2 separate regions of the Homo sapiens genome follow, and region 1 is linked to region 2. The links are contacts of gene promoters, found by promoter capture Hi-C in blood cells and fetal thymus (Javierre and others, 2016). All regions are on one chromosome and are shown on one strand. The core of a region is centred on a gene start or on the middle of the fragment in contact, and the rest is flanking DNA. Distances in the headings are between cores, read along the strand shown. Region 1 overlaps ITPRIP (inositol 1,4,5-trisphosphate receptor interacting protein). Region 2 holds the start of DUSP5 (dual specificity phosphatase 5).

Region 1 (3,881 bases), core at 978-3,477, 6.2 Mb before region 2:
ACTGAGAACGCCCAACCACCGAGTGGTGGAGCCAGGACTCAACTCAAGTCTGCCCCACTTCAAAGCCCGTGCAGTCACACCGCCTTGGCTCTGGGCACCTGGAGATGTGGCTCATTAAAGATGAGCCATGAAGGGCCTGGACAGAGACCAGAAAGAGCCCTTTAAATCTAAAGAGGCCAGCTGAGCAGGGCAGGCTGCCTGAGGCAGCCGAAGCAGGCACTGCTTTAGGAATGCTTCACCCCCTGGCCTACGCAGGGGATGCAACAACTGGCCAGCCTTGGCCCAGCCTCCATGCTGATTGGGGACCACGTGTCTTTGCTCTATGCTTGGCTTTCTATTGATCCATCCAGGTTACCGGATCATCCTCTTGATTTGCATATAGCACTTACTCTCATGGCCTGGCCCTACAACTCTGAGATTGTACAGTAGTTATCGAATTTACGCAAATGCAAATCTATGTCTCTGGGAGCTAATGCTTGCAAAGCACTAAACAAATAGGTAAATAAAATAAAAAATTACTACATTATGAGAGAGGAAAGGGAGAAATGCTACCAGGATTTCTCAGGGAAATACTGCCCTTGAGGCACTGGCCAAGGAGATGCCCATAGCCAGGCTGACCTGAGTATCCAGTCTACCTGGCAGCTATCTTTCTGCTGGTGAGAGGGCCGCAGAGGTAGACAAAGCCCTGCACTATTGGACATCACTGTCCCCCACCCTCACCCCATGCTGCTCCTGCCTGGTTCTGACTCCAGCTTTGATAAGCGCAGTCCACCTTCTGGTCTTTGGTTTCCCATATGGCTTGTCTAGGACGCAGGGAAGAGACGACATTCAGTCTGTGTGATGTTTGCGAAGTCTCCTTGCAAATTAATAAACCAGCATTCTGATTCGTACACCCTCTTCTGGGAGCTTTCTCAGGGTGAATCAGTAGCTTGAGTCCAAACCACTCTGAAAATTATGGAAATTGGGTTTCTGAGCGGGCACAGCTAAGAGCCATGCCCTGGGACAGGTGACGTGATCCAGGTAAACACCACCCTCTGAGCAATCTGCTGGGCACCAGCTGGCCCCTCCCAGGAGGCATCTTGACTTCCTCACTGATGAGAAGCCTATTTTGTTTAAAGTGCCTATCGACAGTACATAGTGAAATGCTCGGTTCCAGCTAATTAAGCGCTCAGCTGTACGGTGTGGAAACTAAGAGATCATGTATATGGAACTGTGAAATGGAGTTTCAGGAAGGGTTCTTGGACGAACTTGAGAAGGGCATTTGTGGGTGAATGGGACTTCAACAAGGAAGCAAGAGACCACAGATGGGGATTAGGGGTTTGGAAGGTCAGGACAGTTGTCTCACCTCCTTCCACTCGCTCTCTGCCTAGGTCAGGACCCTGCGTGCAGCCACCGCCGTTTCCCTCTGAGCCACACCTGGGGGCACTTACTCATCACCCTCATGCCAGGCCCCAAACTGGATCTGCCACCTCACACCGCCCAGAGATTAAGGAAAGTCACTTGATTCTTGGGCCAGGCTCCCCATCAGCCATCAAGGCCCGGCTTGCCTCTTTTCTTTCCTCCTCTGCCTCCTGCCAGATGAATTTCCCCTCCTTCCTCCACCTGGACTGAGAATGGGTATTTCCTCCTTTGACAGAGAAAGAAAAAGGCAACTGTTCTTCCCCCTTTCCCACGAGGGTTCCCAATTAAACTAGCTTTTTAAGCTTAAGTTGCTTCTTGGTCTATGAATGCCCAGTGATTAAGACTCACCTTCCAGGCTCTGGAACACTTAACATCCCTGTGCCTCAGTTTCCTCATCTGTAAAATGGAGTTAACAATACCTAACTCATACGGCTACTGTGAGGATTAAATGAGTTAATACAGGCTAAGTACTTTTGGGGAAAAAAAAAAAAAGCCTGGCGAATGTTAAGCCCTCAATAGTGGTTGTTTATCAGGGCTGCTGTGTGAATGGTGGACCAGGCAGTGTACTGCTTAAGGCACCTGGCTGAGGGGTGAGGATAAATCCAGCTCACATGCCACTTATCCAGCTATATGGCTTGGCTATGTCCACTCAAGTAAGGCCAGTATTTCTAAGAGGCATCAAGCCCCATCCTCTTGCCAAGACAGAGCACCTTATTCTAATTCATGCGAAGGACTGAATAGGCTAGCAGCAGCCCTGGAGGTTATCATGAACAGTTCTCAGCATCCTCCTGGCTCTGTACCCCTCCCCAGCAAGACTGGATGAGAGAAGGGTCCAGGATGGCCTGGTGTCATCCATAATAAAGTCCTGCTTCTCAGCTCCCAGAACACTTGGAGCACCCACCCCTTCCAAGCAGATTCTCCATTAAAGCCCCACAGGCTGCCGTGCCACCTCAACCCTACTGGGGCAGACTCTCAACTCGAAACATGGAACCTGAGTCTTGGACTCTGAAAGCACCTTCTCCTGCCCAGTTATTTTTTTTTGGGGGGGGGGGGGCAGCGGGGCATTGGGGGGTAGGTTAAAGACAGGGTCTGAACTCTGTCACCCGGATGGAGTGCAGTGGCACGATCCTAGCTCCAACCAAGTGATCCCAACCAAGTGATCCCAGCTCTAAGCCTGGAACTCCTGGGTTCAAGCAATCCTCCCACCTCAGCCTCCCAAAGCTCTGGGAAGACAGGCAGCCACCCAGCCCAGACTCTTTCCTAACTGTTGATGGCTACCTGTCTCTGCTGATAGCTGTGAAAGGAAAATACAACCTTAGGACCCCAAGCTCAGGATGCCAAAGGGAAAAGTTAAGCTTGGGAACTCAGTCATGCAAAAAACAAAACCGAAAACAAAACTGCATTCCTTTTGTTGCCAAACAGATAGCTATAATTTCACATGCTTACTTTATCTTACGTAAAATGTAGATTTACTGAGCATGAGAAGAATGCACCCAGGGAGAGCAGAGAGTCAGTATAACTACTTCATGGTTACCCACAAGTGGAGAAAATCCGAAGGCAGAATGGCCCAGAGCAGCCGCAACATACAGGGAATTAGCAAACAATGAAAGCCACTTAGGCACGAGGGCTGGAGGGAGGACTCAAAAACACAGCCTATTCTGTTTTCGTAAGGAGGAAAGACAGTAATCCACTTTTCTGATACTCTATTTTCAGGGCTCACCTGGGCCTAAAACTGCACCAACCACAGATGAACTTTAGCTGGCAGTCAGATAGACTCGGTTTGTAAAAGGCAAGAGCACTGGGTCATATCCAAAAAAAGAACAAGAAAATAGACCGCGACCCCGATTTAGATCCAAAAGACCAGAGTCCAGATTGCGACCAATATCTGGTACTCTACTGTTTGTGAAATGAGACCAGTATCTGGTACTCTACTAGTTGTGAAAGGGTGCTTTTCTCATACCAGCAGAGGGGCAAAAGGCAAAATGAGGCCCCTGCCTGGTTCCGTAAAATATTTTACCTTCCTGGTCGGTGGCTTTTTTTTTCTTTTTCTTTTTCTTTTTTTAAGAGAAAGCGTTTTGGATGGGGAGTCCCGCCCCGGGAGTCTTCACCAGGCGGCCAGAATGGCAAAGTCACAGGGATGGGGTTGAGGGTGGGGTTAGGGGTGAAGGGGCAGAGAGTTATTTGCAGCCCAAGAGCAAGTCTGCACAGCGTGAGGTCTGGCCCACTAATAGTCCCGAAAGAGGAAGCGGCGGGGATTTTATCCGGCCTGAAGCAGCCCCATAACTTCACTACCATGAACCGAGAAAAAAAAACTTCACGCCTATTCCTCCCTTACAGGAAGGGAGGGAAGGGGAAGGGGAAAAGGGGGCAGCAAATGAGCAGGGCGAACCGGCTTTTCTTTCTTCGGTAGCGCTCTGCTCAGATGTGAGAAGTAACGGGTCACCTGGCCACTAGGAACAAAAATGTGGTCCCGCTCTGGG
Region 2 (3,861 bases), core at 172-2,671:
AACAGAAACAGAACGTGCTAGAGGAAGAGCAGCCTGCAGGGAAGGCTGGCACAGATAACCACAAAAAGAAAGAAGGCCCCCGCATCACGTCTTCACCAAGACCCCACTGGCAAGGCGAGGACAGCGCCTTTGGGTGGATGCATCTGTGACCCAGAGGCAATGCTGGCTGTCCTGGTGTCTGATTTGATTGCATCTGATTTCAAAATTTGATCTCTGCTTCCTTCTGAAAACCTCATTCCCTTATGTCAGTTGTCAACAAGCCCTTGTCTAGTGCGGGCAGACTGTTTTCCATCAAGCAGTCCCAGCCAGGCTAACAATAAAATGGTTGGCAGTGAGCTTGGGGGCAGAAACCTGTTTCCATCCATGTGTCCCCGCAGCTAGCAAAGCCCTGGCACACGGCTGACCCTCAATAAATGCTTGCTGAATGGGTGAATTGTGTCTGCTTCCCCAGGAATAGGGGTGGGAGGCCTGAAGCCCCTGGGGACCGGTGGGGGCAGACAGCCTGAGATTAAACTTGATCCATAGATAATCCCCCAAATCCAGAAGCCACCTGGACAACAGTTGGCTGAACTGAGCTCCATCGTGGGATACATGCTGATGGTACTGCTGAGTTCACCAAGGGTCTCCCCGGGACCAGAAAACAGCTCCTCAAAATACAACTTATTATTCTAATCATTATTGGAGAGTGACAGAGAAAAGAGCGTCAATCCTTTGAGGGCAGAATCCATTTAGGAAGATTAAATGGCTATTCTCACCGCCGACCCCCAACCCCCGTTTTTACTTTTACAAACTTTATTATGAAAAATATCAAACATACAGAAAAGTGGAGAAAACAGTATAACGAATCCGGCCACCCATCACCCAGCCTCAGCGATGACCAACCCGCGCCTGACCTCTCCAGTCATCTATACCCCACCCCTCGAGGCAAATCTCCGACGTCCTCTCCTTACACGCGCAGACCTCGGTAGCGACGGGAATCCGTTCCGGACTCCTCTGGGGCCCTGGCCGGCTCCCTCGGCCCTGCTCAGCGCGGCGCGGGCGGGTTCTCAGCCCACGTCCGTGAAGCTGAAGGCCGGATCGTGCGGCGCCGCCCCGCCCCCCACGGCGCTTCCTCCTCGGTCCGCACCGCGAGGGTCACCGCGGCCCCGGAGCGCCTGGGACACTCGACCGGCAGCCGCGGGTGATGCGCGAGTGAGTCCCTCAGCGAAGCGCGGAAGAGAGAACGAAGAGGCGCCTTCCACTTCCTCTCGCTCTAACGCCGGCACCCGCCCCGCGCGTCCCTCGCCCCCGCTGCCCCGCCCCCTGCAGGGCGTGGCCACGGCCCGAGGGGCGGGGAAACACCCATATTTGGCCTTATATGGGCAGCCGCGTCACGGACGGCACTCATTCACATAAAACGCTGCGCGGCCGGCGGAATCCCCGGCTTCTAGGGCGGCGAGCGGCCGGGCTGGCTATCGAGCGAGCGGGGCGGGAACGCGGAGTTGCGCCGCCGCTCGGGCGCCGGGCTCCGTCGCGGCCGCAGCCCCGCGGGTCGCCCTCCCGTGCCTCGCCCGCGGACACCCTGGCCGTGGACACCCTGGCCGTGGGCACCCGCGGGGCGCGCGGCGCGGGGCCGCTGGCCGGCGGCGGCGGCGGCATGAAGGTCACGTCGCTCGACGGGCGCCAGCTGCGCAAGATGCTCCGCAAGGAGGCGGCGGCGCGCTGCGTGGTGCTCGACTGCCGGCCCTATCTGGCCTTCGCTGCCTCGAACGTGCGCGGCTCGCTCAACGTCAACCTCAACTCGGTGGTGCTGCGGCGGGCCCGGGGCGGCGCGGTGTCGGCGCGCTACGTGCTGCCCGACGAGGCGGCGCGCGCGCGGCTCCTGCAGGAGGGCGGCGGCGGCGTCGCGGCCGTGGTGGTGCTGGACCAGGGCAGCCGCCACTGGCAGAAGCTGCGAGAGGAGAGCGCCGCGCGTGTCGTCCTCACCTCGCTACTCGCTTGCCTACCCGCCGGCCCGCGGGTCTACTTCCTCAAAGGTGAGCGCTCGGGGTCCCTGCCACGCTCGCCCCTCCGGCGCCCCCGGGTCCCCTCCCTGCGCCGGGGCGCCCTCCTACACCCTGGGACCGGGAGAGTCACCACCTGCAGGAGTCTGCACCCTGTGGCTTGTTGTGCGCTTGGGAGGGCACTGCAAATGTCAGCACTCAGAGCTCCCCCTCTTCCCCACCCGCGTTCCTCGAAAGCGCCCGGCAGCGGGTCTGCCCGGTGGTCTGGGTGGAGTTGGTTATGCTGCGGGGGCTGCTGCTGTTTAGCAGTTTGGGGGCCGTCGGCTCGTGCCGGGCACGAGCCCCCTTTCCAGACGCGAGCTTCGCCGCTGTCGCTGGGGTCAGGGCTCGGGGCCTTCCTGATAGACTGATCTGGCGGGATCAGCAGGTCGCGATCCACTCTCCCTTGGTGTGGCGCCGTGGTGCCCCCCTTCCTCCCGCCTAGCCAGCTGTGGTCTTCACCGACCCCCTTGCCTTTTTGACCTGGCGAGTCCCTTCCCTTTCCATTTCATTTTATTGCTTTTTATTGTTTCCCTCCGGCCTCTTCTCCCCTCCTAGGTCTTTTCTCTAGCTCAGTTTGGAGCTCACATCCTTTCCACCCTTTTCACCTCCTCCTTCCTCCGCCCCAGGATTATCCCTGGGACCCATCCTGAGCTGAGCCTACAGCCAGCCAGCCACGAAATAGAGGTGCGCGGGGGCAGGGTGGTATGGAGATTCTGCGGCCTTTGATTTGACACCTCCCGGAGCTACCGCCACAGGCCTGCCCATTTCACCTGCCGGGAAGATAACTTTGGCTTCTGGTGGTGGGTGGGTGATTGACTCTCAAAATCCAAAGCATTGGTTTTTTCTGGGTTACTTCCTATGACTGCTCCTGCTTTGTGTTTGAGTCCTTTGTAACCTCAAATGACACCCGGGGAGACCTGACCCACATGTAGAGATGAGGGTTTAGCCCCAGCAGGGCCCCAAGGCCGTGCCAGCCCTGGCGCGGACACCTTGGGATGTAACAGTGTTGGGGATCAGAGCTCGGTGCAGAGAGCCGGCGCCGAGTTAGGAGCCTGTTTTAAAGCCATGCAACTTGAGTTTCACACAGTCCGGGCCAGGAAGATTCTGGAGACAGTTCCCCTCTCTGCTAGCACCTCCTGCTGACTGGTCCCCTGTTGATTTCCTGTTGGAGAGTTAACAGAGGTAGATGGTAATCGTCCTTCTTCTAACAGCCTATCCCCCAGGGGATAGAGGGTTGGCCCTCTGGCTCTGCAGAGGTTTCAGCGTGCCTCCTGATTTCTTTCTCTTCCTAATATGGTTTTTATCTCCTGTGGTTTGGAGAAGTTTCTGCCTCAGTAGTATGAAAGAGGTTCCAGGAGACCCTCCCTGGTCCCACCTCTCCTCCCCATGCTTCTCTAAGCTGGCCCTGCTGACAGTTTAGAAGTTGTCGCCACAAAGTAGGCAGCTCTATAGACTCACATCTCAGGAAAACTGGGTTAAAATGTTTTTTAAAAGAAGGTAACATATACACAGGTAAAAATTTGAACAGCATGAAGGCCCTGTGATGAGAAGCGGGTCTTCTGCATATCTTAGAACCCAGTTCCACTCCCCAGAGACAGTCGTCAACTATTTTTTGTTTACCTTTAGATAGTTTTTCATAAGTATCTTAGAAATAGATTGATTTTGTATAGTCCCTGTCCTGCCTCTTGTATCTATCTAGATCTTGGAGACTTGTCCATATCTGATCATACATGTCTGTTTCACATTGAACCGGTCTCCTGTAATGACCATTAGGTTGCGTCCCGCCTCACTGCTCCAAGCAATGCGGTAGATGTCCTTCTCCATGTGCTCTTGCGTG

The links. The method cuts DNA at HindIII sites, captures the fragments that hold promoters and counts their contacts. A CHiCAGO score of 5 or more calls a contact.
Region 1: a fragment that was not itself captured here is called in contact with the fragment with the promoter of DUSP5 in region 2 in 1 of 17 cell types (total B cells); the score reaches 5.4 in total B cells.

Annotation. Positions count from the first base shown.
Region 1 is chr10:104,334,053-104,337,933 of GRCh38, forward strand. The region is part of intron 1 of ITPRIP (inositol 1,4,5-trisphosphate receptor interacting protein); the gene reads right to left. Among named protein-coding and RNA genes, the nearest start is that of ITPRIP, 2.5 kb to the right of the region's middle. RefSeq lists an enhancer at 3,091-3,290. The HindIII fragment of the contact is 1,053 bases long and covers 1,702-2,754 here.
Region 2 is chr10:110,496,486-110,500,346 of GRCh38, forward strand. DUSP5 (dual specificity phosphatase 5) reads left to right here and starts at 1,422. Exons shown (of 4, transcript NM_004419.4): 1 at 1,422-2,015. The coding sequence starts at 1,637. RefSeq lists an enhancer at 1-467 and silencers at 949-1,478, 1,489-1,628, 1,699-1,758, 1,879-2,148. The HindIII fragment of the contact is 7,811 bases long and covers 1-3,861 here.